Linked DNA regions of Homo sapiens: all the other regions are linked to region 1. Evidence: promoter capture Hi-C in 16 types of primary human blood cells and fetal thymus (Javierre and others, 2016). All regions are on one chromosome and are shown on one strand. Each heading gives the region's core, a stretch centred on a gene start or on the middle of the fragment in contact. The rest is flanking DNA. Distances are from core to core; before and after follow the strand shown. Region 1 holds the start of RASL11A (RAS like family 11 member A). Region 2 overlaps FLT3 (fms related receptor tyrosine kinase 3). Region 3 overlaps CDX2 (caudal type homeobox 2).

What was found. Contacts are between HindIII fragments. The CHiCAGO score rates a contact against its expected background, and 5 or more counts as called.
Region 2: a fragment that was not itself captured here is called in contact with the fragment with the promoter of RASL11A in region 1 in 1 of 17 cell types (M2 macrophages); the score reaches 5.3 in M2 macrophages.
Region 3: a fragment that was not itself captured here is called in contact with the fragment with the promoter of RASL11A in region 1 in 3 of 17 cell types (naive CD8 T cells, monocytes and M1 macrophages); the score reaches 5.3 in naive CD8 T cells.

Annotation. Positions count from the first base shown.
Region 1 is chr13:27,269,161-27,272,819 of GRCh38, reverse strand. It overlaps RASL11A (RAS like family 11 member A), which reads right to left and starts at 1,990. Exons shown (of 4, transcript NM_206827.2): 1 at 1,752-1,990; 2 at 1,280-1,336; 3 at 1,102-1,181. The coding sequence starts at 1,875. RefSeq lists silencers at 1,590-1,819, 1,860-2,079 and an enhancer at 2,028-2,528. The HindIII fragment of the contact is 11,897 bases long and covers 1-3,659 here.
Region 2 is chr13:28,046,262-28,049,920 of GRCh38, reverse strand. It overlaps FLT3 (fms related receptor tyrosine kinase 3), which reads left to right. Exons shown (of 24, transcript NM_004119.3): 7 at 147-286; 8 at 384-537; 9 at 1,478-1,646. Among named protein-coding and RNA genes, the nearest start is that of FLT3, 52 kb to the left of the region's middle. The HindIII fragment of the contact is 4,034 bases long and covers 19-3,659 here.
Region 3 is chr13:27,964,008-27,967,666 of GRCh38, reverse strand. It overlaps CDX2 (caudal type homeobox 2), which reads left to right. Exons shown (of 3, transcript NM_001265.6): 2 at 2,652-2,797. Among named protein-coding and RNA genes, the nearest start is that of CDX2, 3.5 kb to the left of the region's middle. RefSeq lists enhancers at 502-1,193, 1,194-1,885. The HindIII fragment of the contact is 4,180 bases long and covers 1-3,659 here.

The sequences.
Region 1 (3,659 bases), core at 741-3,240:
GCTGTTATCCCTGCATTATTTTTAAACCCCTTGCTTGTCAGGCAGTCTCTGGTGAACCATGGCTGACTGAAGAATGACCTCAAACCAGAATGGCTCAAGTTTTAGGAAACACTAACTCATAATAAACAAAACTTTGAAAATAAGCCAAGATAAATATCTATTCCCAAACTCATAAAAACATTTTTAACATGCACTTCTTAAGAATGTTACAGAAAGAAATTCCTTTCTTAGGGTTCTTCCACAAGACCTTTCCTCTGGAGAACGGAGTAGCAATTAGTAACTGGTTAATAAACAAGTTACATTCTAGACCCTCTGCCAAGGGGTTATCTGATTGCAATTACTGACTTGAGGGAACAGCCATTAACAGCAGCAGTTCAGCAGTGCTTGGGCCGGGCGCTGTGGCTCATGCCTATAATCCCACCACTTTGGGAGGCCGAGGTGGGCGGATCACTTGAGGTCAGGAGTTCGAGACCAGCCTGGCCAACATAGTGAAACCCCATCTCTACTAATAAATAAATAAATAGATAAATAGCTGGGAGTTCCGGCGGGTGCCTGTAGTCCCAGCTACTCGGGAGACTGAAGCAGGAGAATCGAGGAGAATCGCTGGAACCTAGGAGGCGGAAGTTGCAGTGAGCTGAGATCCAGCCACTGCACTCCAGCCTGGGCAAGAGTGAAACTCCGTCTCAAAAAAAGCAGAGCTTGCCAGGGGAGAAGAGTCTCTCCCATCAGAATCCTACCTCTTTTTTTGTTTTGTTTTGTTTTGTTTTAAACGTTTTTTTCTTTGTTAATGGTTCCATGGCTACCTCCGGAAGAAATGGTGAGACCTGCTTAAGTAGTGATGGCCCACCAGGGTTGCAAAGTGAAGTTAAGTCAGGTGCTTAACAAGAGGAGGCTGCTTCTAACCATGCCTCCCCCTTAGAGAGTTTCTAACACCCCAACCACTGGCCCCACCTGTGGACAGCCCATTCCTCCCTCTAAACGCACAGGTCGGTTTAGATGCCTTGCTCAGACCCCTGCGCCCAGCATGGGCGCCCTACGTGCTGTGCCCACTGGGGTGGTCTCACGGGTGGGGGTGAGCTGTTTGCCCCTGGCGGTTCTTACCTGGACGCCCCCGGGAGTATCCTGGATCTGCAGGGAGAGCTGGTCCCCCTCGACATAGACCAGCCGTGAATACAGCTTGCCTGGAGAATGAAGTAGAGTTTGCTTTTTAATTCTCAAACTCCCATCCGTAAAAAGAAACACGCAAGCATAAAAGCAGGGAGCGTGAAAGTATTCTCACCTGTATTCGGTTCATAGTCTCCAATGAATCTCTTGGTCAGGAAGCGCACGATCATTGCTGAAAAGGAAATAGGAAAATCAACCGAAGGAGTAGAACAAGCCTGTCAAACCCAGGCACCTCGGACAAACTGGGGGGAGTGAAGGGTGCAGAACCGTGGGCACTGCTCGCTTCCAGAGGCTCCGCAAAGCCGTGGTGCCGCGGGCTTGGCCGCGAGTACGACTGGCGGGACACCTCTCCCGCACCCCATCCCCGAACAGGCGCCAATCCCGCCGAGATCCCAGGAGTAGATGCACCAGGAAACGCCAGGGAAGCAGGCCGGGACGGACCGGGACCCACCCAGCGCGAAAGCAGCCCGATTCTACCTGCACCCGCGCCCTCTGCTTCGGCCGAGGCGCCCTCTCTCCGCAGCGCCCCCAGTGGTCGCGGCCGGAGCCGGGGAGCGAAGCCGCCCGGGGGTCCCCGCCGCACTCACCGCTCTTGCCCACGCGGCCGGCGCCCAGCACCGCCAGTTTGATGTCCTTGGGCAGTAGGTAGTCCGAGGAGGACTCGGGGATGGGTGCGAGCAGAAAGTGCCCGGACATGCTGAGCGGCCGCATGGAGCGCGTCCCGGGGTCCGGCGCGCAATCCGAGAGGGCTGGGCCTCGCCGCACCCGGAGCCGGCTCGCCAGCTGGGAGTGCGGGACTAGAGGTCCGGGACCGCGGCGGCTGCCTGCAGAACTGTCAAGGCCCGCGGCTTTTAAAGGGCTTGGTGCGCCCGGGAGCGCGGCGGCCGTCCCAGCTCCTCCTCGTCTCCGCCCCTTCCCGGAGCGGCCGGGAGGGGCGGGAGCAGAGGCCGCGGAGCTGACTATCGCCGAGGCTGTGCGCTTCGCCGGGCTGCTAGCTGCTCGCGGCTCCAGGCGCTCTGCGGCAGGACTGCGGCTCCGGGGCTCAGACCCTGGAGATACGGCCACCGTCCAGAGCGCGCGAGTGGCCTCTAGTCAGGCATTCTGCGAGTCTCCTCGCCCCGCAGCAGCCAGCCGGAGTCACTAGACCTGTGGGTGAACTTGAGATAGGAGTTACGAGTTGACGAGAGAAGAAGAAAAAGTGCAATCAGTTGGATGTTTCTGCAACAATGGGACAGATTGCTGTAAAACGCTGCCCTTTTTATTTTTAAAAGGTGCTAAGGGGCTGGGCGCGGTGGCTTACGCCTGTAATCCCAGCACTTTGGGAGGCCCAGGTGGGCAAGATCATCTGCGGTCAGGAGTTCAAGACCAGCCTGGCCAACATGGCGAAACGCTGTCTCTACTAAAAATACAAAAATTAGCGGGGCGTGGTGGTGGGCGCCTGTAATCCCAACTACTCGGGAGGCTGAGGCAGCAGAATCGCTTGAACTAGGGAGGCGGAGGTTGCAGTGAGCCGAGATGGCACCACTGCACTCCAGCCTGGACCACAAGAGCGAAACTCCGTCTCAAAAAAAAAAAAAAAAGAAAGAAAAGAAAAGATGCTAAGGGGTAACATTAATATGGGAAAAGGGCGGGGGGCGGGGGGCAAGAGCTCTGAATTAGTATCAGTGGAGGCAACTGCAGTCACTGTGACCTTGCTAGGGATAGATGAAGTCCCCTTAGGGGCAGTGATGGTTAGCATCTCAGTATCCATGCCCAGCCCCTCCTCTGCAGGCAGGGGTTGCACTGGCTCATTCCTGAACACTCATGAGCACTCCACTGGCTGGGGGCCCTGGCCCTGCACTAAGTGTCCATCATTAATACTATCCTATGTGCTTGAGTCATGCATTTGCTTCAGTATCCAAATATTTACTTCTAGGTGCATGGTGGGGTCTAGGGTGGGGTGGGGGGCAGTGTGAGGAACAGGACACAGAGCTATAGACTGGTTCTTGGATTTCTGGAGCCCACCAGAAATAGCACAGCAGAAGCCTCAGGACTTTAACCTTGAACAGTTAGAAGACCTTCATGCCTCTGACCTCCTGTGTTCCAGCCTCACTTGCCTAATCGCCTATTAGACAGCCCCACCCTAATTCATACCTTTCTCTACCCTGGTTGTACCAGTTTTTGCTGCATGACAAGCCACACCAAACTAGATGGCTTAGAACAACAATCACTTACAGTTGTTGAGCCCTTTGATGCATCTGCAGGGAGCTTCCAGGTTCTGGAAGTGGGGGCTGGCTGCCCTTGGATAGCCTTACTCATGTCTGGCAGCTGTTGGCTGTGATGAGGGAGGGTAGTGACTGAGTTACATGTCTCTTCTCATTCAGCACGTTGGCCAGGGCCTGCCTTCATGGTAGCTGAGCAGAGTTCCAAGAGAGTGGGTGGAAATGGATAAGGCCTCTTGAGACCTAGGCCTTGAGAAGGAACCCATCCCTTCTGCTGCATTCTGTTGGCCAAAG
Region 2 (3,659 bases), core at 786-3,285, 780 kb before region 1:
AGTCAGTCTCTAAAAGCTTCTTTTATTAATGTGGTTAGTAATATTTGAGATGATGCTAAAGTCTTTGTTCAGAATGTTCAGGATATCTTTTGTGATGAGGCAAAAATCACTTTTTTTTTCTCACTTGGGATGTTTTCATCTCCTAGATCTAAATCAAACTCCTCAGACCACATTGCCACAATTATTTCTTAAAGTAGGGGAACCCTTATGGATAAGGTGCAAAGCTGTTCATGTGAACCATGGATTCGGGCTCACCTGGGAATTAGAAAACAAAGCACTCGAGGAGGTAATAGGACAAGTTTGTATTCTGAAAATGCAGGAACAATTAACTAATAGTCTGGATTGAAAACATTAAATGCAAACTCTGTTTTATTAAAACCTAGGGCAACTACTTTGAGATGAGTACCTATTCAACAAACAGAACTATGATACGGATTCTGTTTGCTTTTGTATCATCAGTGGCAAGAAACGACACCGGATACTACACTTGTTCCTCTTCAAAGCATCCCAGTCAATCAGCTTTGGTTACCATCGTAGGTAATGCAGGCTGCTCACACAATCTTTATTCCTATTTTTAGTCGCTGTAGTGTGGAATGTGAAGTATGTGGTACAAATTCTGATTTCAATATAATGCTACTATCAAACACTAAGAAAGAAACTGAGTTAGAATAGCTTTGCAAAGATAATCTGCCCACCCTCTTCCTTTTCCCGTTAAACCAGGCTCGCTTGAATGCCACTGTCTTTGCATATAACACATTGTAATATGACCATCTGTTTGTGTACTTTTATCCTCCAGTAGACTGTAAGTTTCTTAAGGACAAGAACAACTCATTCTATCCTTGTAGTTCCAGAACCTGACACAGAGCCTGACACAAAATGGACAATAAATACTAGTTCTAAGAACCAACTAACCGCACTGTTAGGGCAGTGAGCACTGAGAGACAGTACAAGCCCTTAGATGCACTGAAATTTTGGTGGGGTATGTAGGATCTGAAAATAACCACAGTTCAATAATCTCAGATTAGGGCACAGCGTTCAGCCATAATGAAAATGCCGAGAAATACAGCGATGCTCTTAGCAGATTAATAAGGAAGTGTTCCATAAGGCAACCTCGTGAATATTGCTAGCCAGATCGCTCTTTTATTTGTGCCTTGAGTTTATTTTACTCTCTCTCATCAATGGAAGAGTGGTGCTGGCTGAGAGCAGGGGCCAGACAGTCAATTATCTACATCCCATTCTTTTTCTTTCCTTCTTTCTTTTTTTAAACATTTCTTAACTTCGAAAGATGATGAGCTCAGGCTTAGAACTAGGGATAGGACTCCTGGGTTTTCACTTGGATTATCCAACCTGACCTGCAGCATGCCAACACTTGAGTTTTCCTGTGTTAAACTGATGAATACAAGTTTATTTTATCTTCTCAATACGTTTCCCTATGAATATTATTAACTAACTCATAAATGCCTATTTTTTCTTACAGAAAAGGGATTTATAAATGCTACCAATTCAAGTGAAGATTATGAAATTGACCAATATGAAGAGTTTTGTTTTTCTGTCAGGTTTAAAGCCTACCCACAAATCAGATGTACGTGGACCTTCTCTCGAAAATCATTTCCTTGTGAGCAAAAGGGTCTTGATAACGGATACAGGTGAGACCACAAAGGACTCTAAGATACCATTTTTAGCATAATTCTCCTTGCTTGTCGCCCTTGAGAAGGACAGTTTTATACTTATGGAAGCAAATTCACTTATGAGTTTAACTATTATTGAGTTGAAATTGGAGATAAGAAAACAATAAGCAGATGTGAGGATACAGTAGCAGTCTTACCATTACTTTAGATAATATAACCTGCTGCATGAAAACAGAAAGAACCGTATTAGTCTGGTCTAGTTTGAGTCTGGTTCTCTGGCATTTTCTGAGTCACAAGGTAGTTTTTACTTCCTGTTTGAGAGTGCGGTGTGTAGGACACTGAGTCTCCCCTAAAACATTTGCAGATGATTGAGGAAGTAAAACTCCTTAAAAACAGAAAAACATTACTCATAGGTGTATTGATTTAAATTTTCAAAAAATACATGCAGAAATAGCCCAATAGTAAGTGCTGAAGGAAAATGTTGTTTTCCTCGGGATTTGTATGAGAAACTATGCAAGATTCTTTTTTTTAAGAACAACAAATTTTCTTTTCTTTTTCTTTTTCTTTTTTTTTTTTTTTTTGAGATGAGGTCTCACTCTGTCACCTAGGCTATAGTGCAGTGGTGCAATATTGGCTCACTGCAACCTCCACCTCCCAGGCTCAAGTGATCCTCCCACCTCAGCCTCCCAAGTAGCTGGTACCACAGGTGCACACCACCACACCTGACTAATTTTTTGTATTTTTGGTAGAGACAGGGTTTTGCCATGTTGCGCAGGCTGGTCTCGGACTCTTGAGCTCAGGAGATTCACCCTACCTGGGCCTCCCAAAGTGCTGGGATTACAGGCGTGAGCCACTGCACCCAGCCGAAAGATTCTCTTGTGGGAGGAATTCTCCATTCCTTCTTTGGAAAACAAAAAACAACTTTCCCCTATATCTTCTATAGTTATGACATCTCTTGTCTCTTTAAACTAATGCTATGGAACATGGTTTTGGACTAGGCTATGAGACACTGAGACGCACATGTTATCTTTCAAACAAGTCAATGGACTAGAATAAATCATCCTTTCTCAGCATGTGGTCTGTTGAACAACTGTGTAAGAATCATCTGAGCAAATGTTTAAAATGTGGATTCCTGGCTCCCATTCCAGACATGCTGACTCAAAACTGGGGCAAAACGCTCAGACTCTGCTTTTTTAATGAGAACCTTTGGTGATTCCTATCACAGGTCTAGATCTGTGCTGTCCGGTACGGTAGCCACCAGCCACATGTGGCTATTGAGAGCTTGAAGTGTGTCTGGTCCAAATTGAGATGTACTCTAATTGTAAAATACACACTAGATTTTGAAGACTTAGTATGAAAAAAAGAATGTAAAATATATTATTAATAATTTTTATATTGGCCGGGCTCGGTGGGTCACACCTGTCATCCCAGCACTTTATGAAGCCAAGGCGGGTGGATCGCTTGATCCTAGGAGTTTGAGACCAGCCTGGATAACATGGCAAAATCCCATCTCTACAGAAAATACAAAAATGAGTTGAGTGTGGTGGTGTACACCTTTAGTCCCAGCTACTTGGGAGGCTGAGGTTGGAGGATTGATTGAGCCCAGGTGGTCGAGGCTGCAGTAGCCATGATCACGTCACCGCACTCCAGCCTGGATGCAGAGCAAGAACCTGCCTCAAAAAGAAAAAATAATAATAAAATTAAAACAATTTTTACATTGATTATATATTAAAATGATAGTATTTTGGATATATCGCATTCAGCGAAATATGTTATTAAACTTAATTTCACCTGCTTCCTTTTACTTTATACAGCCAACAGAATTTGTAAATGATGTACAAGGCTTGAAGTTGTGACTCACATTCTGTTTCATTGGCTAGCCCTGTTCTAGATGAAGAGTAGGAGTTCTTTTCACCTTGATTCCGCTAAGTGTTTGTTTCATGATTATTGTTACTCTTTATACCTAAAAGGGATTTGTACTAAAAGTCCCTTGTTGGGACTTTTAGAATCTCAGTGCAGGGTTTGCATGGA
Region 3 (3,659 bases), core at 837-3,336, 690 kb before region 1:
TTCAAGGGTGTCAGGGATGTCTGTGAGTGTGTGTGTGCAACTGAAAAAGATCCTAGGTTTGCCGGACTGTGGGGCTCATTGACTCTGGGTCTGCCCCTTCTGGTGTTCGAGTGTGCCTAGAGGTGGCAAGGAAGTGCGGTGGGGAGAGTCCTAGTTGAGTGCCCCTTTTAAAGTCTTTCCCCAGCCCTCAGCGCTTCCGCTTTTCTTGCTTCGCTCCTTGATGCCCCAATTGGGCAGGCACGCTGGTTATGGGCACTTTGCAGAAGTTTATAGCCAATTACAACTGTATAAATCAAAGCGCCCTTTGGGGGCTGTCTCTGGGCATCGGTTTCTGCGTCACTGTGCACATGCTAGGGAGAGTCCTGGTGGGAATGCCGCCGACCGGGGAGAAGGCCACAGATCAGCCTCGGGTGAGCCTCAGAGCTTTGGCTTGGTCCCTTCTCCTAGAGGAGGCGCCTTTCTCCTAGCAGGGGCTCCCAGATCCTGGCTCCCAAAGACCCACTTTCTACAGCCCCTGTCTGGGGCGCGGTTGGCGGGGGTGGCGCACGCCCTAAGGAAGACCTTTGCGTGTCCCGGGAGAGCGGCCGCGGGGTGAGGGCCGGGAAGGGGGCGGGAGGGAAGCCGCCAGAGCCCAGGCCGCGGGGTCAGCAGATGAGAGGCCGCTGTGAAGTCCTGCGCCGAGGTGGCAAGGCCGCAGTCGGCGCCGGGTGCCCTTGTGATGTTAATGTGGGGTGGCCGCAGCCCGCGGGCCGGAGCCGGGCTCCTCTGCGGAGCGTCATCTGTCAAGGTGTGGGGGTGGAGGGGGGGACGCGGCCTGGCTTGCTTTGATATACACCTTCCCAGCCCTGCCATTGTCTCTTTTAGGGCCCGGAAAGAGGGTGGTGACTTTCGCAGTCAATAATGAATTCTGACAAGTCCCTCTCATCCCTCCCCTCCATAGCCCCGCTCCTAGGTTCCCAGGGGGTGTGGGGCGCCTCCAAGGCCCTTGGGGCATGGGTCGAAGAGCGCTCAGGGTCTGGTCATCGCGTTGCCCGGCACGTCCGGGACACTGAAGGGGCAGCACCCGAGCAAGGGTCGCTCCGAGACACTTCCAGGCGAGTCTCCCTCCCGGGGTGTTCGGCTGAGGGAACTGCCCTGCGCCTCAGCTCCGGAGGTGTCCTCTGTGGCTCCAGCCAGGCTCCGGTGCCAACCCCGCCTGATACTATCTGCGTGACCCGGTCTGATTCTCCATTTCCTCATCTGTAAAAAGGGGCGAGTACCAATGGCAGCCTGGAGTGGGTTTGAGGCGGTCACGCGTGTCCGAGCGTCCACCGCGGAGAAAGTCGCGTTAGTTCCCTTTACTTTCATAGCAGGCGCGGGGTCGGGGCCGCAGCCCCATTCAAATGCGCCTGCAGGGTCGTGTTTATGTTAATGCGCCTGGCGGGGAGGGGGATGAAAGCCGGGGCCGCCATTTGCTCAGTAGTGGTAATTCAAACAGAATGTGGTTGTTATTAAGGCATTGAAAGGGCTTTTCTTTGATAAGATCGCCTTGTCCTGCATTGTTTGCGGCTGTGTTGGCCTTTCAGCGGCTCGGGGGAGCTCCCTCTGATCAGGCCTGTATCTTCCCAGGACGCTTTTGTTGTGGTTTGCAAAGGGTTTTACCTGAACAAAGTCAGCCTGCGGGGCATTAAACACCTCCAGGCAACTCCCAGGCCCTTCAGATCTTTCTGTGGGATTGGGCACTGGGCGATTGAACCTGTTCAGCTGCAAGAAGACCCAAAAGTGGGACGGAGCCAGAGAGAACAGCTTCTGGCCAGGGCTCTGCCAAGGGCTGAGCCAAGACAGACCTGGTGGAGACGCCAGGCTCGGGCCTGCTCCAACATTGTGGACACTATTTGTCAAGGCCCTTCAGTAAAACAATCAATCTGGGATTTAATATGTTGACTCAATCCAATGAGCATAGATCACTGGTCAGGATAACTCTGGCCGGATTTGCAGCAGGAATAAATGGAGGATCAAAAAAGAAAAAGTACCAAACGCCAAACCTGGTCTGGGCAGGTATAAAGTGTCCCCAGCAGGAGGGGTTTTCTGCCTGTTCCCTCGGCCAGAGCCCAGCTCAGAATTCCACCTGATGGGCCTGGTGTGTCTGGGGGATGATTCTGGCGACTTGTCAGCTCCTGAGCCCCGCTTTCCACTTGTAGTAAAGCAAAGTAGTAACCCCCACACCCCCTCTACAACATGTGCCCACAATGACAGCTGTTTTCGGGGTGGGCTTCCATCTCTGGTAGGCCTGGAAATCTGGATGCTTCCAGGATCCCGGCCACTTCACCCTGCCCCCTTTCCCTTGGTGTCAAATATATGCCAGTACTGTATTTGGTTTACCGAAAGGGTGGTTACATTCTGCTGTCTTCTGTGTGAATGAGGTTTTCACTTTCCTTAATTTTTAAAAACCACTTAATACCAAGGTTAGTTTAGTTGCCTCCACTAGCCTCATACCCTCCCCCCACAGGACCCTCTGGGGGGTCTTGTCAGACTTGGCAGGAACCAGCCAAACCCGGGCCCCCCAGGGTGGTGGAGGAAGAGAAATGTCCCTGGGTTAGGGAGGTTTGTCATTACCCATGACTGATGGGCTGCCTTGCAGTTCTCAGCCCTCACTTCTCCTTCCTCCACAGTGAAAACCAGGACGAAAGACAAATATCGAGTGGTGTACACGGACCACCAGCGGCTGGAGCTGGAGAAGGAGTTTCACTACAGTCGCTACATCACCATCCGGAGGAAAGCCGAGCTAGCCGCCACGCTGGGGCTCTCTGAGAGGCAGGTGGGGACCGCCTAGCTCCCTCCGGGCGGGCCACTGCCTGGCAGAGGACCATGAGAGTTAGAAAATCTGGCTGCAGGGGCCATCTAAATCTGTGGAGAGACTGAAGCAGGAGGATGCAAGCATTCGTCTTTGGAGTCCTTTTTTTTTTTTTTTTTTTTTTTAAACAGAGATGGGGTCTTGCTTTGTGGCCCAGGCTGGAGTGTAGTGGCACAATCATAGCTCACTGCAGCCCTGACTTCCTGAGCTGAAGGGATCCTCCTGCCTCAGTCACCTGAGTAGCTTGGACTACAGGCTCGAGCCACCATGACTGGCTAATGTTTAAATTTTTTGCAGAGATGGTCTCACTGTCTTACCCAGGTTGGTCTCAAACTCCAAATGCTCCTCCTGTCTTGGACTCCTAAAGTGCTGAGATTACCGGTGTGAACCACCATGCCTGGCCTGGAGTACATGCCCCCCCACCCGCCACCGTCGAAACGCAGTTTCACTCTTGTTGTGCAGGCTGAAGTGCAATGGCGCGGTCTCAGCTCACTGCAACCTCTGCCTCCCGGGTTCAAGCGATTCTCCTGCTTCAGCCTCCCAAATAGCTGGGACTACAGGCATGTGCCACCACGCCCGGCTAATTTTGTATTTTTAGTAGAAATGCGGTTTCTCCATGTTAGTCAGGCTAGTCTCGAACTCCTGGCCTCAGGTGATCCACCCGCCTCGGCCTCCCAAAGTGCTGAGATTACAGGTGTGAGCCACTGTGCCTGGCCCTGGAGTACTTTTTTAAAAAGCCTCCTTCTACCTTTAGTCCTCTTTTTTTGATGTTGTTGATTTTTTCTGTCTCTCTCTTTTGAGGGATATAAGAAGTGTGAAAAACAGC